4 separate regions of the Homo sapiens genome follow, and regions 2, 3 and 4 are each linked to region 1. The links are contacts of gene promoters, found by promoter capture Hi-C in human tissues and cell types (Jung and others, 2019). All regions are on one chromosome and are shown on one strand. The core of a region is centred on a gene start or on the middle of the fragment in contact, and the rest is flanking DNA. Distances in the headings are between cores, read along the strand shown.

Evidence for each region. The method cuts DNA at HindIII sites, captures the fragments that hold promoters and counts their contacts. A contact is called where the count stands out against the background at its distance.
Region 2: a fragment that was not itself captured here is called in contact with the fragment with the promoter of DOK4 in region 1 in 1 of the 25 tissues and cell types used here (lymphoblastoid cells).
Region 3: a contact is called between a fragment that was not itself captured here and the fragment with the promoter of DOK4 in region 1, in 1 of the 25 tissues and cell types used here (lymphoblastoid cells).
Region 4: a fragment that was not itself captured here is called in contact with the fragment with the promoter of DOK4 in region 1 in 2 of the 25 tissues and cell types used here (lymphoblastoid cells and mesenchymal stem cells).

Annotation. Positions count from the first base shown.
Region 1 is chr16:57,481,660-57,487,742 of GRCh38, forward strand. It overlaps DOK4 (docking protein 4), which reads right to left and starts at 4,834. Exons shown (of 9, transcript NM_018110.5): 1 at 4,646-4,834. RefSeq lists an enhancer at 4,087-4,883 and a silencer at 4,715-5,014. The HindIII fragment of the contact is 12,171 bases long and covers 1-6,083 here.
Region 2 is chr16:57,296,891-57,304,058 of GRCh38, forward strand. It overlaps TRL-CAG2-1 (tRNA-Leu (anticodon CAG) 2-1), which reads left to right and starts at 3,061; the gene lies at 3,061-3,143. TRL-CAG2-2 (tRNA-Leu (anticodon CAG) 2-2) reads right to left here and starts at 3,672; the gene lies at 3,590-3,672. RefSeq lists enhancers at 2,785-2,914, 3,325-3,384 and silencers at 3,035-3,244, 3,535-3,704. The HindIII fragment of the contact is 5,049 bases long and covers 434-5,482 here.
Region 3 is chr16:57,638,177-57,645,344 of GRCh38, forward strand. The region is part of intron 1 of ADGRG1 (adhesion G protein-coupled receptor G1); the gene reads left to right. Among named protein-coding and RNA genes, the nearest start is that of ADGRG1, 13 kb to the left of the region's middle. The HindIII fragment of the contact is 4,588 bases long and covers 2,164-6,751 here.
Region 4 is chr16:57,334,584-57,341,751 of GRCh38, forward strand. No RefSeq gene overlaps it. Among named protein-coding and RNA genes, the nearest start is that of CCL22, 21 kb to the right of the region's middle. The HindIII fragment of the contact is 4,385 bases long and covers 1,041-5,425 here.

The DNA of each region.
Region 1 (6,083 bases), core at 3,584-6,083:
AGGTTCATCCAACATAGCTCAGACATAGCACAGCCCGGAGTGTGAATCCAGCTGGCTGTGTGGTCCTGGGCAAGCCGCTTAAGACCCTGTGCCTTAATTTCCCCATTGGAAAAAAATGAGAATAAATCTACCTACTTTAAATGAGGAAATGAATTCATGAGGCACCTGCTTGCCCACTTGGGACACAGAGCTTCTACCCTTTTTCTTTTTCTTTTTCTTTTTTGAGACGGAGTCTCCCTCTGTCGCCCAGGCTGGAGTGCAGCGGCGCGATCTCGGCTCACTGCAACCTCTGCCTCCTGGGTTCACGCCATTCTCCTGCCTCGGCTTCCCGAGTAGCTGGAACTACAGGCTCCCACCACCATGCTCGGCTAATTTTCGGTATTTTTAGTAGAGACGGGGTTTCACCGTGTTAGCCAGGATGGTCTCGATCTCCTGACCTCATGATCCGCCCGCCTCGGCCTCCCAAAGTGCTGGGATTACAGGCGTGAGCCACTGCGCCCGGCCTTCTTTTTCTTCTTTTGAGACAGTGTCCTGCTCTGTCACCCAGGCTGGAGTGCAGGGGTGCCATCACGGCTTACGGCAGCCTCAACCACCCAGGCTCAAGTGATCCACCCACCTCAGCCTCCTGAATAGCTGGGACCGCAGGTACATACCACCATGCCCAGCTAATTTTTAAAAACTTGTTTGTAGAGATGGGGCTTTTGTTTTTTTTTTTTTTTTTTTTTGAGACGGAGTCTCACTCTATTGCCCAGGCTGGAGTGCAGTGGCCCAATCTCGGCTCATTGCAAGCTCCGCCTCCCGGGTTCACGCCATTCTCCTTCCTCAGCCTCCCGAGTAGCTGGGACTACAGGAGCCCACCACCATACCCGGCTAATTGTTTCATATTTTTAGTAAAGACGGGGTTTCACCGTGTTAGCCAGGATGGTCTCGATCTCCTGACCTTGTGATCCACCCGCCTCGGCCTTCCAACGTTCTGGGATTACAGGCGTGAGCCACTGCGCCCGGCCCCTAGAGATGGGTTTTCACCATGTTGCCCAGGCTGGTCTTGAACTCCTGGGGTCAAGTGATCCACAAGGCTCGGCCTCCCTGAGTGCTGAGATTACAGGTGTGAGCAACTGCGCCTGGCCAGAGCTTCTGCCTTGAAAACTCCAAGGGCTGTGTGTATGTATATATATATAGTTTTCTTCAAGAGTTGCTGCCCAGACAGGGCGGTGAAACCACCAGAAGCCAGCCTGCTCCTTCCCAGTGTTGCCCCACCAGGGACTGTGGCCCCAAGCTCGCAGGAGTGCTCCTGCTGCGTCTGTCCATAGGCCCCACCCCGTCCCATACCCCAGGTCCCCAGCGGGAAGAGTGACCTTCACGGGGAAGGCTGGGTGCCAAAGTCCTGCCAGCTCACTCCGGCCCTGAGTCACAGGGACCCCTGGCCACACTTAGTCCCTAATGATGTTTGCAAGAGCAAGACCTAACCTAGGACCCAAAATGGTGGGCAAAGAGGGGTTCGGAAGGGGAGGGAAAGGTCAGGGCCAATAGGTGGACCCACAAATTTGACAGGCAGTGGGGTCAAGTGGTGAGGGGGGGGCCCAGAACCAACCCACCATCCTCCAGAAGGAATGCACTGTGTTAAGCAAGCGAGGCGGCCCCCAAGCTGAGCCTGTGAAGGCCCAATAGGACAGCAAGAAGTGGAGAGCAGACCAGGCACAGTGGCTCACACCTGTAATCCCAACACTTTGGGAGGCCAAAGTGGGAGGATCACTTGGGGCCAGGAGTTCAAGACCAGATCCGGCAACATAGAGAGACCCCGTCTCTACAAAAAATGAAAAAATAAGCTGGGCATGTGGCACGTGCCTGTAGTCACAGCTACTGGGGAGGCCGAGGTGGGAGGATCACTTGAGCTCAGGAATTCCAGGTAGCAGTGAGCTATGATCAAGCCACTGCACTCCAGCCTGGGTGATAGAGTGAGACTGTTTCTAAAAAATTTCAAAAAAATCAATTAAAAAAATACAAAAATTGGAGGGCAGCTGAGGCTAGGCAGGCCAGGAATTGGGTTGAAGTAGCCCCTGCCCTGTTTGTCCCTCAGGCCCTTGTCCCCAACAGGCCTGCAGCAGGAAGAATGCTTGCTACTTTGAGAGGACCTGAGGTCTTGGGTCCTTCCCCAGCACTGTGAGCTCCGAGCTCCCAGCTAAGCACGGTGTCCAGCAGTCGCTCTCAGGGTTCCAGTGAGGGAGGAGGGGAGCAAGGGCCCCCCGCATCCCACCTCCCAGCCTGGTACCAATACTGCTGCTTACCCAGGGACAGTACCTGCCTGGTGCCAGGCCACCACAGGTTTCCGCGCAGGGAGAGCCAGCTCCAAAATGCTCCTCTCCCCAGGAAGGGCTGGTGTCCTGGGGTGGCGGGGAGTAGGGAGACTCCCAGGGCCCTCACTGCCCACCTGCCCCACAGGGCAGCCATGCTGAGCACTCCCTCTCGCACATGGATTCTGCCTGGAGGCTTTGGCTCCAGAACAAACGCGCTGAGGCTGGCAACCAATGACTGAGCGAGCGGCTGCCTGCCTGGCTGGGCCTCCCCACCCCTGACAGATCGGATCTTATCAGGGCTGCAGGAACAGCCCTACCTGGACACCATCTCAGTGTCGTCTGGCTGTCTCGATCCAACGGCGAAGATTGGATCTGTGGGATTCTCTCCAGCACCAGAGCCATTTCCCATCACCTGCTGCTCTGCCCCCACCCCACCCCAAGATTGTTGTCAGAGGCCGGCTGGGAGTGCTCCCAACAGATCCCCATAGGGGCCACCGGCCAAAACATGGTGAGTCCCATCAAGGTGGATGGCAAAGACAGACCAAATACCCATCTAGGCAGACAGGGACGGCAGAAGGAGGGGACATCTGAACAGCCATGGTCCCCCAGACCCTTAAGCCAGGAGAGTAATGCTGTGGCCCCGTACCACTCTGGTTCTCCTGGGTCCCCTGCCCACCCCTCAACATGCCAAAACCCCTCCCTCGAGGGACCACTGCACTAGCTGTTTCCCACCTACAACATTGTTCCCTCACATGCTCATGGTTCATTCCATTGCTTCATCCACCTCCTCCAGGAGGCCTTCCCTGACTACCCTCACCAAAGGACCCCCACTAGTCAGCCTCTCTCACAACATCAGATGCGGCTGTCTTCATCGCACATCACCATGGGATTTTCTTGTTCTTACATCTGTCCATTTGTTTCTGGCCACAGAGAGACATCTGGAATGTCAGCTCCCTGGTGGCTCGGCCTCGTCTGTCTAGTTAACAGCTCTATCCCAGCTCCCAGAATGGTGCCCGGTGGGAAGGAGATGCTCAATATTTGGGGGCTGAACACGTAATTCTCTCCAGGACTTGTCCTCCTCCCCATCCTTTCTTCCACCACCACCAGCCTCCATCTGGCTGGACCTGGCTCAGCTTCCAGAGGTGCGTGAGCCACAGTGGGCTCCCAGCTCCTGGGTCTCAGCGCTGACTGGCATGGCCAGCAGGCTGTTGTTACTGGAGAACCAGCTGTGCCCAAGACCCGCAGTTTGGTTCAGAGCTGCCTCAGGGAAGAGCATGCTGCTGACATCGAGGCCAGGCCTAGTTGGGCGGCCCCACCTTGGCCAGGGTTGTGGGGTGAGGTCATGCCCAGCCCTGCTGCCCTGCCCAGGAGGGAAGTGCTGGGAGTAACCAGTACCAGCACAGCAAGGCAAGCAACTGGGGAGAGGAGGCACAGCTCCTGGGATCAGAGTTGGGGGTGGGGGCAGGAAGAGCCTGTACCAGCGCCACATCCCTCTGAAAGGGTCCAGGAAAGAACCTGCCCTAAGCAAGCCCACCTCACACTGCCCAAGTGGAGTCTCCTAGAGATACTGCCAGGCCCCTCGCTGCCCTGGCCATCAGACCCCTCCAACCCACACCCTCCATCCAAGCGGAAGCGCCCCAGCAACTGACGTGTCCCCATGGCTTGGGGCAGGCAGGCTGCACAGAGCCCCTGCTCTGCCACATCACCCAGGTGCCCAGCCTCGGCTCATGCCCCTTTTCAGTAATAGAAAGCATGTAACTGGATCTAGGGCCTTGCGGGCCCTGGGGGAGAAGGTGGACAGGACCTTGGGGGCCAATGGAGAAAGGTTCAAGGACAGGAGGCAGCTGGCCATGAGTTTGGGCTGTGGGGAGAAACCCCATAGGCAGGAGGGGGTCGGCAGTGGGGGCCAGCTGGGGTACAGAAAATCATCTCTTGGAATTTGGAGGAGGTGAGCGAACAGGAGGCCCCGGGGAGGAGCAGGAAGGCAGAGAGAAGGTTGGGAGCTGCCAGGGGCTGGGTTATGCCCCTTCCGGGGGGGCAGGCCCGGGAGCGCAGGGCCTGGGTTGCTCGGATGAGGTTTGTGTGGGTGCGGGTGAGGTCAGCTCGCGACCTGGGCTCCCCCGGAGAGGAAAGCTGCGGGTGGAGAGAGCGCAGGGAGTTTCAGGGCCCAGGCACTGGCTTTTGGGGGGCGGGTCTCTAAGCTCCCCACCCGAGAGTAGGAAGGTCCCATGGGACGGAGCGTCCTCAGGTTCAGGAAGTGACTGAGGGTCCTCAGGGGTGGGAGTCGCCGAGACTCTTGCAGGCTCTGGGCGGCCTATGTCCCCCTCCCTGCCTCACGCCCCCCAATTTACCTGGGCGCCGAGGCCCGGGCCAGGAGCGCCTGCTCAGCGGCGCCGCGGAGCAGGCTCATGCCCGCGTCACGGCGCGGCTGGCGGGGGCGGCAGGGCGGCGGCGGCGCCGGGCTCCAGGCGGGGACGGCGAGGGAGGCGCGGCCGCAGGGCTAGGGATCGGGCTCCGGCTGGGGCTCCGGCTGGGACTCCGCTCCGCTCCCCCCTCCGCCAGGTCTCGCCGCTGCGCCCCGCCCCCTGCCCCGCCCTGGCGGCCGGCCCCCGCCGTATTCCTCCGAGCCGCGGGACGCGCGATTCTGCCCTGGCGCCCTGGCACCCCCGCACCCGCTTCAGGTCGCCCCCGGTACCCCCAGCTCATTCCCACCGCCCCTCCCTGGGCCCCAAAGCCCACATGGCCTCTCAGCCCCTGAAAGCTGAACTCCACATCAGCTCCCAGCCCCCACATCTCAACCCCTTCACTTCTTCAGGAATCACATACACACCCATACGCCACATCAGCTCCCAGCCCCCATATCTCAATTCCTTCACTTCTTCAGGAATCACATACACACCCATTGCTCCCCTAACCCCATCATGACTCTCTGGGCCCTCACAGCCCAGCTCTCCCAGCCCCACAGTGACCTCCTCTGCTACCCCTCCTCAAGTAGCCGCACCAGCACCTCTGTCTTCCCTGGTCTCCTCTCCACCCTCAAAACATCCAGTTCTCCCATTCTAGGTCCCCCTGAGACTTTGCCCTCAAGCTCAAACTTCATTCCCCTTCATTGCTGCCCCCACCCAGCCCCCAACCCCCTCACCTCTGCCCTTCGGGCCTGTGCAGTGGTTGACTCACTGATCTGTCGGAATCCCCAGTCACAGGCCTCAGCTGTGCCAGGCAGGGACAAGAGAAGTTGCCCAGTGCCTCCTCTGGGGAGGAGCTGTCCCCCCTCTGGTTTTCACGTCTGTACCTTTTTACACCAGGGCTTCTCAAAGTGTAGTCCCTGGACCAGAAGCTTCCCATCACCTTGAAACTTGTTAGAAATGCAAATTCCCTGCCCTACTCAGACCTATGAAATCAGAATTTTTGGGGGTTTCCAGCAGAAATGTGTGTTTTAACAGGCCAGGTGATTCTGATGCACACGAATGTGTGAGAACCACTGCTTTAGACCATATATACAAAACAAAACAATAGGCCACCTGAACAGCCAAAATCCTGAGAAATGAAAATACCTCCACATCCAGCTACTGTCCAGGTGTCTCAGAGGAATAGGCCTAAAGCAGTGAGGGACCAAGGATCCCAACACCCACCCATGGAATGCATGCCCCTGCCCCGGAGACGCCTGGGCCTCAGCCTTGCCCAGGGAGCTTAAAAGGAGGCTGCCTCTGGATGTCTGAAAATTTCCCTGATGGTCATTGTGGTGTCTGTGATCAGCCTGAGCTAACCAGCCCCAGGCCCATGGCCAAG
Region 2 (7,168 bases), core at 1,708-4,207, 190 kb before region 1:
GATCCACCTGCCTCAGCCTCCCAAAGTGCTGGGATTACAGTTGTGAGCCACCGCGCCCGGCCCATTTCTGGTTTCTACTTAGCTTTTTTCACTTAACTCTTTGTCTTGAGATTTTTCCGTGGTATGAACCCTTTTATTTTTTTATTTTTTATTTTTGTAAAGTAGGTTTGTGTTATTTATTTCTTTCATCACACAGTAAATATGGACCAAGCCCTATTATGTGCCAGGCCCTAGCCCCAGGGGTCCGGCTAATCACCAAGCCACAGATGGGGGGTGTTAGGGAGAGCCATTAAAAAAAGGATTACCCAGATAATGTGTTCATTACAGATGTGCTTGGATGGAGATCCAGGGAGCTGGGAGAGTCTGTGCCAGACAACTCGATTTGTAGGGGTGAGCAGGGAAGGCTTCCCGGTGGTGGAAAGATCTGGAGTGTGAGGGTGGCCTTCTTGGTGTTGAACAGAGAGACAAGGCCCTGGCCAGAGCTGCCTCCAGAGAAGCAGAGAGGGGCACAGGTGGGAGAAGTTCTGATCCCTCACTTCCTGGGGTCCCTGAGATCCAGCAACCTGCCTGCCCACCCTTCCCTCTGTCTCATGAGCCAACAAATCTCCCTTTTTTGCCAAAACGAGGGCAAGCTGAGTTTCTGTCTTTTACACCCAAAGAAACCGATGAATGGCGTTACAGTCCCCCAGCGTTTTTGGCACCAGGGACTGGGACTGGTTCTGTGGAAGACTATTTTTCCAGAGGAGGTAGGGGTGGGTTAGGAGGGTGGTTTTGGGATGATTCAAGCACATTATGTTCATAGTGCACTTTATTTCTATTATTATAACATTGTAATAGATAATGACATAATTATACAACTCACCATAATGTAGAATCAGTGGGATCCCTGAGTTTGTTTTCCTGCAACTGGACGGTCCTATCTGGAGGTGATGGGAGATCATCAGGCATTAGATTCTCATAAAGAGTGTGCAGCCTAATCCCTTGCACGCACAGTTCACAATAGGGTTCACGCTGCTATGAGGATCTAATGCTGCCCCTGATCTGACAGGAGGCGGAGCTCAGGCGATAATGCAAGCGATGGGGAGTGGCTGTAGATACAGATGCAGCTTCCTTAGCTTGTGTGTGGCTCACCTCCTGCTATGCCGCCGGTTCCTCACACGTCACAGACCGCTATAGGGGTTAGGGACCCCTGCCCCAACTCCTCCCTTCCTTCCTGTATGGCTGAGAGAGGTGAAGTGATCTACCCAAGGTCACACGGCAGGAATTCAAACGCAGTACTTCTCAACCTGTTCAAGGTTTAGCAGGGGCCTCCGGGATCCACCAGCCACGTTTGTGATGAGGGGGGAGGTGAACTCAGAGCAGTTTTGGGGAGACTGAACAGCGAAGTGGTGGGGAAAGTTGGTTTCAGACCAAAGATATTATAGAAAATTACCCCTGGATGGAATCTTCCAAATCAAATTGTGCTTTAGGGCACTGGTAGAATAATGAGTCTCCTCATCATATCCTAATCTCTGGAACCTGTGGCTCTGTTACTTTAAATGGTTAAAAGAGAGTTTGCAGCTGTGGTTAAATTAAGGCTTTGGGCCGGGCGCATTGGCTCACACCTGTAATCCCAGCACTTTGGGAGGCGGGTGGATCACTTGAGGTCATGAGTTCAAGACCAGTCTGGTCAACATGGCGAAACCCCGTCTCTACTAAAAATACAAAAATTAGCCAGGCATGGTGGTGTGTGCCTGTAGTCCCAGCTACTCAGGAGGCTGAGGATGAGGCAGGAGAATTGCTTGAACCCAGGATTCGGAGGTTGCAGTGAGCCGAGTTCGTGCCACTGCACTCCAGCCTGGGCAACAGAGTGAGACTACTTCTCAAAATAATAACAATAATAATAATAATGGATTTGGAGATGGGGTGATGACCCTGGGTTATCAGACAGGCCCAGTGTAATCACAAGGGTTGTTATAAAGAGGTTAGGCAGGAGGGTCAGAGTCAGAGAAGGTGATGTGAAGACAGAGCAAAGTTTGGAGTGGTGTGGACTGAGGAGCCAAAGAATGTGGGTGGTCTCCAGCAGCTGGAAGAGGAAAGGCAATGGATTCTCCCTTCTGGCCTCCAGACGGAATGTAACCCTGTGACCCATTTTAGACTTATGACCTCCAGAACTGTAAGATAAATAAATGGGATGGTTTTAAGCCACCAAATTTGTAGTTATGTGTTACAGCAGCAATAGAAACTCTTGAATCTCCTTGGCAGCATTTCCACCAAGTGACCATCGATCCTCGTCTTGAATGCCTCCAGCGACAGGGATATCACTACCAATACAGTCACCCTGTTTCCTTTCCAGCAAACTCTTTCTTCTCCCAAACCCATCCTCTGTAACTATTCACCCACTGCACCCCCACCTCGGGCCCCAGTTCTTGGAGCAAAAAGGACAGGCAGACACAATCCCAACCCCTTGTATATCAGGCTTTTGTAGACAGATAATAATTCTCTTCCCCAAGCTTAACAATCTCCAACTTTTTCCCTTGATCAGCTTATTAGAAAGGTCTAAAAGCCAACTCTTTCTGAATGAGGCCCTAGGTAATCATTTGCAGAGTGGGATCTCCCAACCCAAGGCCTCCCGTCCTGAGGAGCGGATGACAAAAACCTTATAGAGCGTCCTCCTTCCAACAATAATTCTCCAAACCCCGCCCCCTACTCCGCCAGTGCCCCATTCACAGCCCGAAACATCCGACCGGTATTAGTAATAGTTCATAATACCACCACTTGAGGCTCAGAGCCTGGGCAGGCAGCTAGAATTTAGCAACGTTATTTCGTTTTCATTGTGTTTATTTCTGTTGATGGTAAGGGAAACTGATTTTCCATTTAAATTATCTGTGTATTCAGTTGAAAGCGCCAGTTTGACCACAGCAGTGAGTCTCGCTGCACCGGATGGGTTTGGTTGTGGATAACCTAAGCTGCAGGCCGGACTCGGAACTGCCCGGGACACCGCCTCTGGGTTCTGAGTCCCGAGCGTCGTTGAAGCATGAGAGGAACTACATCAGACCCCAAAATAGTCTCTCCTAGGAAGTCAGGATGGCCGAGCGGTCTAAGGCGCTGCGTTCAGGTCGCAGTCTCCCCTGGAGGCGTGGGTTCGAATCCCACTTCTGACAAGCGCTCTTTTCCGGTATTTCAGAAGAGAAATCTTCGACGACCGCACACCAAGAGAGGCCCTCAAACACAGAGGACCGTACGTTTTACACACAATCCAAAGTCTAAATGAATGTCTGTGGGGAAGAAAAAGTCTGACAGGACGTGGTCGTGTGATTCTGAACTCCCAACTTCGGAGGAGGTTGAGGCGGGAGGATGTCGCCACCACACTCCAGCTTAGGCGACAGAGCGAGATTCTTTTTTAAAAAAGAAAATGCTCGTTAATAAGAAAATACTCGTTTTGTAAAACAATTAAGATTATGCGAACATATACGCACAAGACATCATAACCTCATTGATCTGTAAAAGAATAAAAAAAGATTATAAGAACATATACACAGAACACATACACACAAGACATCATAACCTCACTGATCTGCGGTGTTGATGAGGAAAAGTAATTGAGCTCTGTCAGAAGTGGGATTCGAACCCACGCCTCCAGGGGAGACTGCGACCTGAACGCAGCGCCTTAGACCGCTCGGCCATCCTGACTGCTTGCAGTGTGTGGCGCATAAAGCCTCTTCACAAGTTCTGCAATATGCGCATGCGTAGTGGGCAGCGAAGACCCACTCCTAGTTGTCCGCCCGGCGTTGGGTGGAGCGAGATACACTCACTTGCTCCAATGGGCGTGGAGAGATGGGACAAGGAAGGTCAGCGCGATGCACCTAGGCGACGCCAGAGGGTGCGCAAGGCCTACTAGAGAAGGCCGAGACCGAAGACTGTTACTTCAATACACATGCATTCGTGCCTCCAGCCTGTATTCATTCTGCATTCATACATGTACTATCATGTCAGCTTTGATTCCTGAAATCTGCAAGCAACCTTGCATTTCCCTTGTGCACAATGCAATCAAGTCCGTATACCTGCACTGATTCGCAGACATTTCCGTGGGCTGGCGCCCAATCTAGGTAAAGCCCAGGTATTGCAAGGCCGCCTGGCACTCTTACCGCGCTCTCCTTCCGAATACTCGCCCCAGCTGCAGCTTCACATTTGTATATGTGTTATAATTCATTTACTCAGGCTCCGGGATAGAACGAGGCCTGCAGCTGCACAGCCAGACCCGCCCTATTCCTATGTCCCCAGTGCCCAAACCGTACCCGGCACACAGTAGGTACGCAGGGAAGATCCCATGGATTCATTCTTCCCTCGCTTCCTCCTTCCTGCATCCCCTCATTTCGTGACTCATCTCTCTTTTCCTGGCCCCCGCGGCATCTTCCTCTCTTCCCTTCCACCCCCTCTAGGCTTACGCACGCCGCGCACAGGCTGTTTCCAGGGACCAGAAGACCTCGGTACCGAGAGGGTGCCCTTCTCCAGAAGGATTTCTAGGATCTCAGGGGGCTGGGCCGCTGACCTGGTGTGTAACAATTACACATTAATTAATGAATTCCCTCATTAATGACTCATATTCCTACAATGGCAGCTGCTGCCCCTCTCTGTACACAGGCACTAGAAGAGAGGGTCCAAGACCCTCGAACATCTCTGAGCCAACTTTGGAGTCCAGGGGTCAGGCCTAGAAGGTGTGAGCAGTGGGGTCACATTAACCTCTTAGTGCCCTCGGACTTGTCTGAGATGGTATCACAGAGCGGCCTCGGCCAGAGAACAGCAGCACTTACCACCCTTGGATTAGATTCCCTTGAGATGCTTGGAGCTTGGGATGCAGCCCCATGGGGGTGGGCAGAGGTCCTGGTTATCTGAAAGACAATGAAATCCTCCTCTTTCCCTGTCCCAAATGTCCTCTCCTCATTGACTGCCAGAATTCTTTCCTTTAGGTTTAGCACTAAACTCTTTTGTGTCCTCTTCTAAAATACAAATTGCCCTGGAAGCTGGAAAGAAAGTCAACAAACATTTATTAAGCACTTGCTATGTGCCACTCTTCTAGATGCTGTGAACAAAACAGAATTTCCACTCTCAAGATACATTCAGGCATGGAGCGAAGGGAGAAGGATAAGAAACAGGTGGACAAATACATCCAGGTGTTGTTAAATGCTGGGTAGAGGATGCATCAAGAAACTCATGAAAGACTTTAAAACAGGCAAAAAAGATAGCTGGATCTGATTCTATAAGGGCTTGCACCTTTCATTACTTTTATGTCCAAATAATTCTTGTCCACAGAAATACAGGTGAATTTTGTTAGGGTAGAATGCAATTGATCATTGCCCTGTGGATATTGACCAATTTTGCAATCTGCTTATAAATTCATTTCAGCATTCCTGATTGCCAATATATGTGTGTCTTTGAATTCTCTTTTGAATTGGCTATAACATTGAACAGGTCCTCCCATTAATTAATGACTAAAATAAAATCTTTGACGTGTTCATTTTATATTTATATGAGAATTATGATTTTATCTTAAAAATTATCCTTTTGGCCAGGCGAGGTGACTCATGCCTGTAATCCCAGCACTTTGGGAGGCTGAGGTGGGCAGATCACAAGGTCAGAAGTTCAAGACCAGCCTCGACAACATGGTGAAACCCCGTCTCTACTAAAAATACAAAAATTAGCCAGGCGTCATGGCACTTGCCTGTAATCCCAGCTACTAAGGAGGCTGAGGAAGGAGAATTGCTTGAACCCGAGAGGCAGAGGTTGCAGTGAGCTGAGATCACACCATTGCACTCCAGCCTGGGTAACAGAGTGAGACTCCATCTCAAAAAAAAAAAAATACCCTTTTAACAGTGATCAAGAGTGATTGGGGCTCTCCTAGGCAGGGTGGTTAGGGAGGGCCTCTGTGAGGAGCTGACACTGAGTTCAAAAGGAGAAACACAAGCAAGATCAAAGCTGCAGGTGGCAGCATTTCAGATAAAAGACATAGCCAGTGCAAAGGCTCTGAGGCAGAGAGAAATATAGTCTGTTGGAGGGACAGCAAGGCCAGTGTGGCAGGGGTAAGGTGATGGGAAGGTTCAGGCCATATCACACAGGGCTGGAGTGCCAGGGAAAGGAGTTTGGATTTTCTTCTGTGATGGAGTAACTGCTGTGTTTTTGTTTGTTGTTGTTGTTGTTTTGACACAGGGTCCAGCCCTGTGGCCCAGGTTGGAGTCCAGTGGCACAATCTTGGCTTACTGCAGACAATCTCCTGGTCTCAAGCAATCCCTGCCTCAGCCTCCCAAGTATTTGGGACTACAGGTGTGCACCACCACACTTGGCTAATTTTTATACTTTTTGTAGAGACAGGATCTTGACACTTTGCCCAGGCTGTTCTCGAACTCCTGAGCTCAAGAGATCCTCCGGCCTTGGTCTCCCAAAATGCTGAGATGATAGGTGTGAGCCACTGTGCCCAGCCTGGAGTGTTTTAAGCAGGGGAGTGGCATGGTCCTGAGGGCCCTTCAAAAACTATCCCTTTGGCTGCTGTGTGGAGGATGGACGGCAGGCCAAGGGAAGAATTGGAAGTCCAGGGGGAAGGCCAGGGCAGGGAGGGTAAGAGATGATGATGGCTGGACCAGGGAAGTGGAGATTGCAAAAGGTGGTAGAATTCAAGATTCAGGATGTGTTTTGGGGTAAAACACACAAGCCCTGCTGGCTGGCTGGTGTGTGTGTGGGGTGTCAGGGTGGAGAGAGAGGATGTAGGGATGCAATAGGAGGTCACGAAGGCCATAGGGGAGCCAGGTTACTAGATGCTTGGTTTCCCTTGAAGGCAAGGGCTTTGAAGCAGGGGCTGCTAGCTTCCCACTTTCACCCCATTTTGCAGACCAGGGAGGTAAGGCTCAGGTGGGCTGAGTGACTTGCCCAAGGTCCTCTTTGGGGCAGAAGCCCTGCACTCTCCACCTCTGGGACCCTCCCTTCATTTCTTGCATCACCAACCTTTCTGAGTGCACATCATTTTAGAGAGAAGGGAACAGAGGTAGCGCCAGAGCTGGAGCCCACACCAGCCCCGCCCTGCCTGCTGCCCTCCTGGCCGGCCTGGGAGAAAGTGCTCCCTTGATGGGGCTCAGCACCAGGTTCCCACACAGCTCTGTCTCTTGGGTTTGGGTGGATGATCAGGTGTCCCCCCTCG
Region 3 (7,168 bases), core at 3,208-5,707, 160 kb after region 1:
GAGAGTTAGGGATTAGCCAAGTGCCAGATGGACAACTGGTCTTGATAGCTTCATGTCCCAGAGAAAATCTCCATTTAAATTCCATACCCTTCCCTTACCAGCTAGGTGGCTCACAGCAAGTCACATCCCCCGAGTCTCTGTTTCCCAATCTGTAAGGTGGGTCCCCTAGGGCTAACCTTGCAGAGTGGTAGAAATGGATCTCCAAAATGCCCAGTGTAGTTCCTGGCACACAGTAGGAGTTTCAGAAGCTCTGCCTCTATTTTCCTCCTTCCCCAGACTGGCAAAAGAGAATCTGAGCTCCCAGCCCCGCCCCGGGAGCTCTAGAAGGAAGCCAGGAGGAACCTCCAGGCCTAGGGCTAACTCAGAAGGGGGATTCTTGGTAGGCTGTGGCAATCTGAGGAGGCTTCCTGGAGGAGGTGGACCCTAAGGAGTTTTCAGAGAAATATGATGCACACATTGTGCTCACAAAAGCCAGTGGTGGGATTAGAGGGTGTTCAGCTTGTTTTGAGGGCAGGGCCACAGGCTGGCAGCTTCCAGAAGCAAATCCAGCTACTGTTAGGCATAATTTGGTTACTGGGTGGCCTGCACTGGGTTCTAAAAAGATTTGGTTTTGGGCCAGGCGCGGTGGCTCACACCTGTAATCCCAGCACTTTGGGAGGCCGAGGCGGGCATATCATGAGGTCAGGAGTTCGAGACCAGCCTGGCCAGCATAGTGAAACCCCGTCTCTACTAAAAATACAAAAATTAGCCGGGCATGGTGGTGGGCACCTGTAGTCCCAGCTACTCGGGAGGCTGAGGCAGGAGAATCGCTTGAAACTGGAAGGCTGAGGTTGCAGTGAGCTGAGATCACGCCACTGCACTCCAGCCTGGGCGAAAGAGCGAAACTCTGTTTGAGAAAAAAAAAAAAAAGATTTGGTTTTAAAGTCAATGTTGACAAACTTGCAGATTTCATGTAAAAACCTGGGGCTCTGCCTCTCTCGAGAAATTGGAAGCTCTGGCTCTTTGTGGTCCCTTCAAGACAGGCAGGTGTCCCCGGGGCTCCCCATAAATCGCTGTCCTAACCCCTGCCCTCCCTCCTGCCAGCTCCCTGTCTGGCCTGGGCAGCGTCTGAGTTGAGGACTTGGGAACAGGACAAGTTACGGAGCCACGTTGCTTTGCTGGGTCTGAGCCGGGGTGTGACGTAGTCCCTGCAGCTGCCAACGGTTGCCAGGGCAACGGTTGCCAGGGGCTGCTGTCACCTGCGCCCCTTCTCCCGCGCTGGCGGCTGGGGCTTCTCAGCCTCTATTCCCTGGCTGTCCCCTTTGTTTGAAGCTCCAGTGAGGGAGCAGTGGCTGGGGTGGCCCAGCTTCAAAGTCTCTGTCCTCTTGAAAAAAGGTGGTCGGGGGACATTGACCCACCAGCCCCGCAGGCTACTGCCTGCAAACAAGAACCCCTCATCTGCCACGCACGTTCTTAATGTATCTATAGTCTGCCTGATGCCACAAAGGAGTCCAGGTACGATTCTCCCGCCTCCTCTCCCCTCCTCCCCGTCCCTTTCACTCCTGCTCCCTCTCCCTGCTCCCCGCTTCTCCCCTGTCTTCCTCCTTCACTCCCCTTCCCCTCCAGCTCGCCTCCTTCCTCCCCATCCCTTCCCCTTTATCTTTTTCCTCTCCCGTGCATTCCCCTTCTCCCCAGCATTGATGGTGTAGCCAGTGGGTGGGGGTGTGGTGGCACTAGGGACCCTGGGGGGGTCAGATGGTACTCCAAGGGACTTGGGCAGTTTAAGACAGCAGCCTCAACTACAAGGAAATAGTTGGGGGTGAGAGCTCCACACCCGTCCCTGCAGCCCAGCCCTTGCTGAAGATTCTTTTGGGTCCCTGGGCTGCACCCCCGGTGTCAGAAACAAGCCTCTGACAAGTCCAGGGCGTGAGGGGACTGGAAGTGCAGGAAAGAGCCACCAGTGGGGCTGGGATCCAAGGTCACCTGGGTGAGTTCTGATGGGCTCCCTGATTTGGGCCCTTGGGAGGATGGCGTCCAGCTGAACCCATGGAAACACATTGTTGGAAGCTTTCTTTACTGTGACTTTTCAAGAGATGTGCTTTCTAAGAGTCAGGTAAGTTCAGGAGGGAAATAGGCTTGCAGATGGACAGCGTGTGTCCTGGAGCCAGCCCTGGGTTCGCATCCAATCTTCATTACTTGCTAGCTGTGTGACCTCGGGCAGGTAACTTGACCTCCCTGGGCCTCGCTGGCCTTATTTGTTGAGTGGGTGTGATGGTACTTGTCTCAAGGGTTTTGAGGAAGCTTAAATGCGTGAACATGTGTAAAAAGCTCACAATCCTGTCTTGCATTTTCGAAGAGCTTAATGAACATAGTTGTGTCACTGGAGGTGGTGAGCACCCCGCCTGCGGGGTGTGCAACCTCTGATGGTCAGTGATGCTGTGCTGTGTGCTCAGGAGTGGGGATGGAACTCAGTGCTTCTACTTCCCTTCCCTGGACGGGGCCCAGGCACAGTCAGGCTCGGGCCCCCAGCCTTGGTAGGGGAGAACTTTGTTCTTCTCAGCCTACTTAGTAGGGGAGGGTGCTCTCGGCCCCTCAGCCAGTGATCCAGGACCTCGAGGAGGGGGAGGAAAAAAGAAAGGGAGGGTTGGTGGCCAGCCTGGGAATGCTAAGTGTCCTGCGCTCCAAAGATGGGAGTTTGCCAGACCTGGGGTAGTTGAACTGCTAAGCAAGGAGGGAGGTGACTGGGCTGACCTTGCGGGCCTGGCCTTGGGCAACGTGGGAACACAGATAGGGAAGGGGAACCTCAGCCAGACAACTGAGGTCCGGCTGTGGTTTGAGAGGGAAGACAGTCTAGAGGGGTCAGGGGAGACGGTTCAGCATCCTCTTTGTCCCTTGCTACCAGCTTGGAGGTAAGCTCTGTTCTTACCTGTAGGCATCCTGAAGCCTGCGGGAGCCTGGAGGGCCCTGGCTGCAGAGAAGGCAGTCAGGGGACAAACATCAGAGTTGCCCACTTGACAGAGGAGAAAATAAGGCCCAGAGAAGGGACAGGCTGGCCTCAAGATTCCAGTTGGCTGCAGAGCTTGTCTGAACCTTATGCCCCTAACTCCTGCCACCCCTGCTCTAGGCATGTACATTCCCTGGGCAGGTACTGACTGGTGTGTGCCCTGGCGCCCAGGAGGCTGGCCTCAGCTGCTCCTTGGAGATGGCCAGGTGGAGACTTGGCCATGAACCTCTACGTGGCTGCAGACCACCCCAGGAGCATAAGCTGAACAGGCCTGGCACCAGAGTCTTCGGACTGCTGGCTCTTTGGCTCTTTGAGGTCCCTTCAAGACAGGCTGGTGTCCCCAGTGCCTTCCTAATCCCTGTTTCTCCTTTAGGTTCTAAGTCTCTTCAATCAATTCTAAAAGTCCTTTTTTTTTTTTTTTTTTGAGACAGGGTCTCGCTCTGTCACACAGGCTGGAGTGCAGTGGTGTGATCTTGGCTCATCGTAACCTCCACCTCCCGGGTTCAAGTGATTCTCATGCCTCAGCCTCCCGAGTAGCTGGGATTACAGGTGTGTGCCACTATGCCCAGTAATTTTGTTTGTTTGTTTAGAGATAGGGTTTCACTGTGTTGGCCAGACTGGTCTCGAATTCCTGGCCTCAAATGATCTGCCCACCTTGGCTTCCCAAAGTGCTGGGATTACAGGCGTGAGTCGCCGTGCCTGGCCTCCAAAATTCTTCTTTTCTTTTTTTTGTTAATTTGTATTTAGAGACAAGGTCTCACTCTGTCACCCAGGCTTGAGTACTGCGGCATGATCATAGCTCACTGCAGCCTCAAACTCCTGGGCTCAAGCAATTCTCTTGCCTCAGCCTCCCAAGTAGCTGGTACTACAGGCAAGCACTACTACCCCTGGCTTCAATTCCAAAATTCTAAGAGACTTTGATTCTCATCTCCTAAAACTCTTGCATCTTCATATTCTTTCTCTCTCTTTTCCAACATCCTGAGTGTCTTAGCTGCTTGAGATGAAGTCACAGGCCCAGCTGGCCACGGCCAACTTTAATGGAATGGCACACCTGGGACAGGCCTGGCAGTGCCCTTTTCCCCACGAGCTGGTGCTGCCGGCCGAAGGGAGGTGGGATAGGCCTGAATATACCCCAGGCTCACCAGGGACCTCTTTCCTGGAAGTGTCAGGGATGATGATGAGTGGCCCTGGGGAATGCCTAAGTGTCTCCTCTAGCTCATCTCATGCTAGCTAATGACCTTTGGGACAGCTCAAAGGGGAAGGGAGGGGAGGGGGCTGGAGGTGCTGGCAGGCTTCTGTGTGGCGTCAAGATTTCTGAGAGCTTTTTTCCATGTGGATAACAGGTGTCCGTGCAAAAAAGGCTCTACCTTCACGTTGGGTTGGGAAACTGCCCAACCAAGCTTTATGGGTTTCTTTCCTGCAGGACTTATCAGAGCCTTTGATATGCTAATATACAACAGAAAGTATGGCCCACAAGCATTTCTCTAATCTGGGGACTAGTGCTCCCTGAAAGTGCTTTGGCAAGTTACCTCATGGTAAAGATGGGGAGACTGAGTCCCAGAGAAGAGAAAGAACTCAGAAGACCACAATGGCTAAAAGTTTGGGCTTGGAGGTTAGGCGGACCTGAGTTTGAGTCCCGGCTTTTCTGCTTATTTGCTGTGTGATCTTGGGCATTACTTAACCTCTTTGGGCTTCAGTTTCCTAAAGTGGGGACACTGATAGCATTTGCTTCACCAAGTTGCTGCGAGGATTGCATGATTCATGGGCTCTGCTCATAGGGTTACTGTGAGGATTGAACAATTAATTTTTTGCCAAGTGCTTTGCAGGATGCCAGCGGCTAATTGAGCACTTGGTGAGTGGAAGCTGTGATCCTCCCTCTCCTCTTAGAATCTCCCTGGATTCCAGGGCCCTTTTCACTGCACCAGATAAGACCCCTGTTTAGTCCCACTCATCATCTGGTGTCCTGCCAGGCATGGGGACTGGGAGGATGTGGGGGCCTGAGGCCAGGACACTGGGACTCTCACAGACGTGTCACAAGGTTGTCATCACAGGGAGGAGGACCAGTGTGTGCAAAGGCTTGGAGGTGGGAGCATCCAAGGCCAGGCTTCTTCCTGGCTGGATGACTATATGTTGGCTTCTCTGAGGCCTCTTAAGCAAATGCCCAGTTCCGCATATGGGAGGCAGCAGGGCAGCCGGCTTTGGACAACTGACTCTCTGGGAGGACTTGGAGTCCCTTCCTATGAGTGGGTCCTTCCCTCTCAGGCTGGCAGGGAGTGCCCCAACTTCTCCCCTTTGTCACTCTTCCCACAGGGTGTGTCTGGGCAGGCAGAGGGTGTTGTGGCTCAAGCACTTGGTTGGACCAGAAGCCACGGGGACAGTGAGGCCTGAGCTGGCGGTATGGGGGGTGGGGGGTGTCCAGCAGGTCTGGTGTAAGAGTGTGAGGCTCACCCTGGGCAGTGAGTGGGCCAGGCCTGGGCACCTGCCAGCCTCCGAGGCAGGCAGCTTGCTTCATTTTATTCTCCTTTATTGTAGGAAAATTCCTGAAAACTGAAGTCACTCTGCTTCTGCCAGTGATCCTGGAATACCCCTCTTGGGGAGCTCTCTGTGGTCACCTAGCTTGGACTTCCGTCACTCACTTGGGGAGTGGGAATGGGGGAGGGGAGTGGGAATAGGGGAGGAGAGTGCTTCTGCCTTTGCAAGCTGTTATCCCAGGACCCATGGGTGCGGCTGAGGGGTGGGGGGACTGGGCTGGGGGTGGGGCGTAGCCCTGAGTGCCACCTGGGTCTGACAGGGGTGTCTACTTTGAGCTGTTGGGTACATGCTATTTCCAAGTAAGATTTACTTTTATTAAAAAAGTTTGGAAACCGTTGGAGGGAGGGTCCTCTCAGACGCCACGCCACCCACCATGGAGGAAACACCTGCAAGAGCCCTGCTCTTTGCACTGTGCCCCGCCCTCCCTGTCCCCTTCCCAGCTTTGAAGTCTGTTCCTCTGAGGAGCTCCCCGCCTTCTCTTGCTTTCTCCTCCTGGCCCCATGCATCCCTGTGTATGCACGGGCACACGCACTCATGCACACACACTCATGCACACACATGCACAGTCATGCACGGGCACACACACTCATCACACACTCATGCTCAGGCACACACTCATGCACACAAGGACATTCATGCATGGGCACACACACTGATCACACACTCATGCACGGGCACACAGCCATGTGCACACAGACATATGCACACTAATGCATGGGCACACACACTCGTCACACACTCCTCACACATTCATGCACATGCACACACTCATGCACGGGCACACACACCCATGCACACACATATGCACACTCATGCATGGGCACACACACTCATCACACACATGCGCAGGCACACACATGCACACACGGACACTTATGCACAAGCACACACACTGATCACACACTCATGCAAGGGCACACACCCATGCGCACACACATGCACACTCATGCATGGGCACGCACACTCATCACACACTCCTCACACACTCATGCACAAGCACACACATGCACGGGCACACACTGATCACACGCACTGGCACACACTGATCACACGTATGCACGGGCACACACCCATGCACACACACATATGCACACTCATGCATGGGCACACACTCATCACTCCTCACACACATGCACACACTGATCACACTCATGCAGGGCACACACACCCATGCACACACACATGTACACTCATGCATGGGCACACACACTCATCACTTCATAACTCATGCACACACACACTCATGCACGGGCACCCACTGATCACACACTCATGCATGGGCACACACCCCCATGCACACACACATGCACACTCATGCATGGGCGCACACACTCATCACACACTCATGCACATACACACACTCATGCACACGCACACACACCCACATGCCTGTGTAACTCGCAGGAGTTCATCCTCACCCTGCCGCCCGACCCCCTGGGCCAAATCCTTGCTTCCAAAGGCTCAGCAGCTCAGTGTCGTGCCCCAGCAGCCCACAGGAGAGCAGCTGCGGACGGGAGGGGAGCTAGGGCAGTGGAAGTTGAGCTGGGGGGGTCTTCCCCTCTGCCTCTCCCAGCGAGGGCCCATTTAAGGGGAAGGCCTCCAGGTGGGCAAGACTAGGCTGGAACCTGGAGATTGCCTCCGGGGCTCCCTCGT
Region 4 (7,168 bases), core at 1,983-4,482, 150 kb before region 1:
TGGCCAGACTGGTCTTGAACTCCTGACCTCAGGTGATCTGCCCACCTTGGCCTCCCAAAGTGCTAGCATTACAGGCGTGAGCCACTGCGCCTGGCCGAGACTGAATAATCTTAATTAACCTATCTTCAAGTTCACAAATTATTCCTTCTGCCAGCTCAAAGCTGCTTTAGAGCCCTTCCAGTGAATTTTTTCATTTCAGTTATTATGTTTTTCAACTCCAGAATTTCTGTTTGTTCCTTATTTTACAATTTCTATCTCTTTATTGGTATTCTCTATAGGTGAGACATTGTATATTTTAATTCTTTAGACATGGTTTCTTTTTGTTCATTGAACATATTTATAATAGTTGACTTAAAGCTGTTGTCTCACAGTTCAATGTTTGGGCTTCCTCAGGAGACAGCTTCTATTGACTACTCTCCCTCACCTAATGTATGGGTCATACTTTCCCATTTTTTGACATGTCTCCAAAATTTTTAAATTAAAAACTGGAAATTTAAAATGATACAACATGTTATCAAGCAGGGTCCCACGGAAATAAAAGAAAAAAATAAAATGATGTAACATGGAAACTCTAGCAATCACATTCCACCTTCCCAGTTGCTTGTTATGAACTGAATGTTTGTGTCTCCAAAAATCCATATGTTGAAACTCTAAGCCCCAGTGTGGCTGTATTTGGTGATGGGCCCTCTAAAGAAGTAATTGAGGTTAAATAGGTCATAAGGATGGAGCCTTGATCTGATAGGATTAGTATCCTCATCAGAAGAGATACCAGTCAGCTCGATCTCTTAGTGTCAGCTACACCCGCAATGATGTGTGAGCAGTATCTAGAACATCTTTTTTGCAAAATGGAGCTCTATGCCCATTAAACAGCTCCCCATTCCCTCATCCCCCACAGCCTTTGACAACCACCATTGTACTTCCTGTCTCTGTGAATTTGACTACTCTAGTTACCTCACATGAGGGGAATTATACAGTATTGCCTTTTGAGACTGGCTTATTTTACTTGGCGTAATGTTCTCAAAGTCATCCATGTTGTACGTGTCGTAATTTCCTTCCTTTTTAATGAATAATATTCACTTTGTGTATATGCCACATCTGGTTTATGCATTCATCTGTTGATGGACACTTGGGTTGCTTCCACCTCTTGACTGTTATGAAAAATGCCACAGTGAACATGAATGTGCAGGTATCTGTTCAAGATCCTGCTTTCAATTCTTTTGGATATATACCCCAAAAAGGAATGTCTGGATCACATAGTATTCTACTTTTAATTTTTTCAGGAACCACCATACTGTTTTCCATAGTGGCTATACAATTTTATATTCCCACCAGCGGTGAACAAGAGTTCCAATTCCTCCACATCCTTGCCATCACTTGTTATTTTCTGTCTTTTTTTTTTTAATTAGTCATCCTAATGGGTGTGGGTTGATATTTGTCTTGATTTGCAGTTTCCTAATAAATAATGATGTTTAACGTTTTTTCATCTTGGCCATTTGTCTATCTGCTTTTTTTTTTTTTTTTTTGACGGAGTCTTGCTGTGTTGCCCAGGCTGGAGTGCAGTGGCGTGATCTCGGCTCACTGCAAGCTCCGCCTCCTGGGTTCACGCCATTCTCCCGCCTCAGCCTCCCAAGTAGCTGGAACTACAGGCGCCCGCCACCATGCCCAGCTAATTTTTTGTATTTTTAGTAGAGATGGGGTTTCACCATTCATGGGATGGTCTCGATCTCCTGACCTTGTGATCTGCCTGCCTCAGCCTCCCAAAGTGCTTGGATTACAGGTGTAAGCCACCATGCCTGGCCGGCCATTTGTATATCTTTTTAGGAGAAATACCTATTCAAGTCCTTTGTTCATTTTAAAATTGGGTTATTTGTCTTTTTCTTATTGTGTTGCAGGAGTTCCTCATATATACATATATATATATATACATATATATATATATATGTGTATATATATATGTTTTTTTTTTTTTTTGAGACGGAGTCTCACTCTGTCACCCAGGCTGGAGTGCAGTGGTGCGATCTCAGCTCACTGCTGCCTCTGCCTCCTAGATTTAAGCGATTCTCCTGCCTCAACCTCCCAAGTAGCTGGTATTACAGGTGAACACCACCGCACCTGGCTAATTTTTTGTATTTTTTAGTAGAGATGGGGTTTCACCATGTTGGCTAGGCTGGTCTCTAACTCCTGACTTCAGGTGAACCACCTGCCTTGGCTTCCCAAAGTGCTGGGATTACAGGCGTGAGCCACTGCACCTGGCCGAGTTCCTCATATATTTTGCATATTAACCCTGGATATGTAATTGCAAATATAGTCTCTCATTCTATAGGTTGTCTTTTCACTCTGTTGATTGTGTCATTTGATGCACAGAAGTTTTAGATTTTGATGTAGTTTAATGTATCTATTTTTACTTTTGTTATCTGTGCTTTTGGTATGATTATCCAGAAAATCCTTGCCAAGTCTGATGTCATGAAGCTTTCTTGTATGTTTTCTTCTAAAAGTTTTATAGTTTATTTTTTACATTTAGGTTTTTGATCCATTTTGATTTAATTTTTGTATATGGTGTATAAAGTAAGGATCTTACTTTATTCTTTTGTATGTGGATATTCAGTTCTCCCATATCATTTGTTGAAGAAACTGTCCTTTCTCCATTGTATAGTCTTTTCACTCCTGTCAAAGCTCATTTGACCATATGAACAAGAGTTTATTTCTGGGCTCTGTATTTTGTTCCATCCATTTATATGTCTGTCTTTATACTGGTACCACACTGCTTTGATTACTGTTGCTTTGCAGTATGTTTTATTATTTATTTTTATTTATTATTATTATTTTTTGTAGAGATGGGATCTCACTTTGTTGCCCAGGCTGGCCTCAAACTCCTGGCCTCAAGCATTTCTCCTGCTTTGACCTCTCAAAGTGCTGGGGTTATAAACATGAGCCACCCTGCCTAGCCTGTAGTATGTTTTTAAGTCAGAAAGTGTGATGTTTCCAACTTTGTTTTTCTCTTTCAATATTATTTTGGCAATTTGGGTTCTCTTGAGTTTCCATATAAATTTTAGAATTTTTTTTAAAAATGATGTTGGGATTTTGATAGGGATTGGATTAAATTTGTAGATTGCTTTGGTTACTATTGACATCTTAACAATATTAAGTCTTTTGATCCATGAACATAGGATGTCTTTCCATTTATTTGTGTCTTTGTTTCTTTCAGAAACATTTGTAGTTTTCAACATATAAGCCTTTTATCTTGTTGGTTAGGTTAGGTTTATTCCTACATATTTTATTCTTTTTGATGCTATTGTAAATGGAATTATTTTCTTAATTTTATTTTCAGATTGTTAATTGTTAGTGTGTAGAGATGCAATTGTTGTTTGCTTTTTTTTTTTTTTGACAAGATCTGGCTCTGTCACCCAGGCTGGAGAGCAGTGGTGCGATCTCGACTCACTGCAACCTCTGCCTTCCAGGCTCAAACCATCCTCCTGCCTCAGCCTCCCAAGTAGCTTGGACCACAAGCGTGCACCACCACACTCAGTGAATTCTGGTACTTTTTGTAGGGACAGGGTTTCGCCATATTGCCCAGGCTGTTCTTGAACTTGTGAGCTCAAGTGATCCATCTGCCTTGGCATCCCAAAGTGCTGGGATTACAGGCATAAGCCACCACACCCAGCTGCAATTGACTTTTATGTGACCATTTTGTGTCCTGCAACTTTACTGAATTGTTTGTTAGTTTTAATAGCTTTTTAATGGATGCAATTTTTAGGGTTTGCTGCATATAGGATCATGTCATCTTCAAACAGAGATAATTTTACTTCTTCATTGTCAATATGGATGCCTTTTATTTCTCTTTCTTGCCTAATTGCTCTGGCTAGGATTCCAGTACTATGTTATTAGAAGTGGTGAAAGCAGGCATCCTTACTTATTCCTGGTCTTAGAGAACAAGCTTTCAGTCTTTCACTATCAGGTTTGTTTTAATCTGCACATAACTATGCTTAGGTAGTTTCCTTCTATTCCTAGTTTGTTGTGTATTTCTCCATTGTTTTGGACAAAAGTCATGTGTTAATCTTACTGTCATTTCTGTGTATATGATGGATTTTCTTTTCTGCTTTCAAGTTTTTATTTTCTTCTTTTCAACAGTTTAATTATAACGTGCTCATGTGTGGATCTCTTTGAGTCTATCCTACTTCTGGCTCATTCAGATTCTAGGATGTGTAGATTAATGTTATCATCAAATTTTGGAATTTTTCAGCCATTTTTTTCTTTGAATATTTTTTCTGCCCATTTCTCTATTTTTTCCCTCTTTCTCAGAGTCCTGTTACCTGGATGTTGGTGCATTTGATGATGGGCCAAGGCTTCTTAGTCTCTGTTCATTTTCTTCAGTCTTTTTTCTCTCCATTATTCAGCTTGTATAATCTCTGCTGATCTATCCTCAAGATTGCCAATTCTTTATTTTGTCAGCTCAAATTTGCTTTTAAGCCCCTCCAGGGAAATTTTCATTTTAGACACTATACTTTTCAAATCCAGAATTTCTATTGGTTCTCTTAAAAATAATTTTTCTTGGCAGGGCACGGTGGCTCATGCCTCTAATTCCAGCACTGTAGGAGGCTGAGGCGGGTGGATCACCTGAGGTCAGGTGTTTGAGACTAGCCTGGCCAACATGGAAAAACCCCATTTCTACTAAAAATACAAAACTTAGCAGAACTTATAACAAACTACAAAAACTTATAACAAAACTGCAAAACTGTGAGAAAAAATAATCATTTGAAAACTGGAGATTGATCAAAATTATAAGTAGTAGGTAGAATAATGGGTGACAGAGTGAGATTCTGTCTCAAAAAAAGAAAAAAGAAAAAACTAACACAGTATGTAACAAATTGAGAAGTGTTTACTTTGAAAAGTCTTGAACTTTAATGAGAAAAGAATGAGGGCTTTGTGTGGGTGGGTGGGTGTTTCAGAGCTTCCTCACTCAGTCATTCTGGAAGTCCCATCTATATGTGATACATTCTTACAATGGAATACTGTGGAGGAATGAGAATGAAGTAAAAGGGCAAGCAAAGACATGGCTGAATCTCCTAAACATAATGTTGAATGAAAGGAGTCAGGCACAGGCCAGGTGCAGTGGCTCATGCCTGTAGTCCTAGCTGCTAGGGGAGCTGAGGTGGGAGGATAGCTGAGGTTGAGGCTGAAGCGAACCGTGATCGTGCCACCGGACTCCAGTCTGGGTGACAGAGCGAGACGCTGTCTCAAAAAAAGAGAAGAAGTCAGGCATAAAGGAATGCTTTCTGTATGATTCAGTGTTTCTTTCTGTTCTTTGTTTGTTTGTTTTTTTGAGACAGTGTTTCTCTCTGTCACCCCCCCCGGCTCATTGCAGCCTTGGCCTCCCAGGCTCAAGTGATCCTCCCACCTCAGTCTCTCTAGTAGCTAGGGGCCACAGGCTTGCATCACCATGCCTGGCTAATTTTTGTATTTTTTTTTTTTTTTTTGGAGAGATGGGGCCTCACTACATTGCCTAGGCTGGTCTCGAACTTGGGCTCAGGTAATCCTCCTACCTCAGCTTCCCAAAGTGCTGGGATTAGAGGCATGAGCACCCAGTGCACCCAGTCACTTTTTCTATGATTCAAATAGAAATAACTAGTTTAGGTATTAGGAGCCAGAATGGGCTTTCCTTGGTGGTGGCAGCAGAGGGGTTGTGATGGAAGAGGTCATGAGGGGGTTTCTGGGTTCTTCTTCTTCTTCTTCTTCTTCTTTTTTTTTTTTTTTTTTTTTTTTTTTTGAGACAGAGTCTTGCTCTGTCACCCAGGCTGGAGTGCAGTGGCGTAATCTCTGCTCACTGCAACCTCTGCCTCCCGGATTCAAGCAATTCTCCTGCCTCAGCCTCCCGAGTAGCTGGGACTGCAAGCACCCACCAACACGCCTGGCTAATTTTTGTATCTTTAGTAGAGATGGGGTTTCACCATATTGGCCAGGCTGGTCTCAAACTCCTGACTTTGTGATCCGCCTGCCTCGGCCTCCCAAAGTGCTGGGATTACAGGTGTGAGCCACCATGCCCAGCTCTTGTTCTTCTTCTTCTTTTTTTATTTTTTAACTTTTTATCTTCTAGTAATTTCAAACTTACAGCAAATTTGCAAAAATAGAGTAAAGAAATCCTGTATTTCCTGTATTTCCATCATCCTGATCCACCAACTGTTAACATTTTACCACTTGAGAAAATAATAATTCTTTCCGTACGAGGAGTCCAAGCCCATGTAGATACAGCATCCCTGTGACAGTGACTTCCAGGATCCCACACTAAAAGAAGGGCAAGAGGAGGAGCCTTCTGACACATGGTTGGTCCTGGGGGACCCATTCCTTAGGTAGGTGGCCACTGACCACAGAAAGAGATGACACTGTTCATTGTCCAGTTTGAAGGCTCCTGAGATTCCAAACGCTCTTGGTTCCCCCCTGGTCTTCTCTATAATTCTCCATCTGTGTCCAGATTACCAGGCTTCAGGGTGAGTAAATAACAGGGAACCGAGGGTTGGGAGGCACTACGGAAAGAACCCTGGGCTCTGGGATAAACGTCCATACATTTTCTTCTTCTTTCTTCCCCTCACACCATTCCTCATGCTTTTCTGCTTCCCCTTTCTGCTTCCTTCCCTATAAGATGTCACCTCCTCTCAGTTTCAGCCACTACCTCTTGTCTGGGGACTGGGAGTTGGAGTTTCCCTGGGTCAAGCATGTCACCGTCCAGCTCGGGTGTTCCATCTGTGAAATGTGCAAGGGGCATTTATACCCTTTCAATCACCAAAGGCTGTTGTAAAGATCATTTGGAGCTGCGAATGTGCAAGTTGTTGATCCTCAAATAGCCTGGCAGTGGCAGGCATGACCAGTCCCATTTCACAGAGTCAGGGCCTGAGTCCCAAGGGCACAGGGCCTGGTAGTCAAGCTTCACTGCCAGTTGGTAGCAGAGCCCGTATCTCTGAGACTTAGGATATAGCCATGCTACTCACACCCTCACCCTACAGGCTATAAGATGACTCTCATTTTTATAGAATACCAAAAAGCCAATTGGAAACCCACAAAACATATCAAATGGCAGAAGAGGTAGATGGAATGTGTAGAATTGTTTGCTTTTCTAAGGGTTTTCTTCTTGAAGAAAGAGCAATTGTGGTTTTACAATGGGACTTGCTCGGAAATC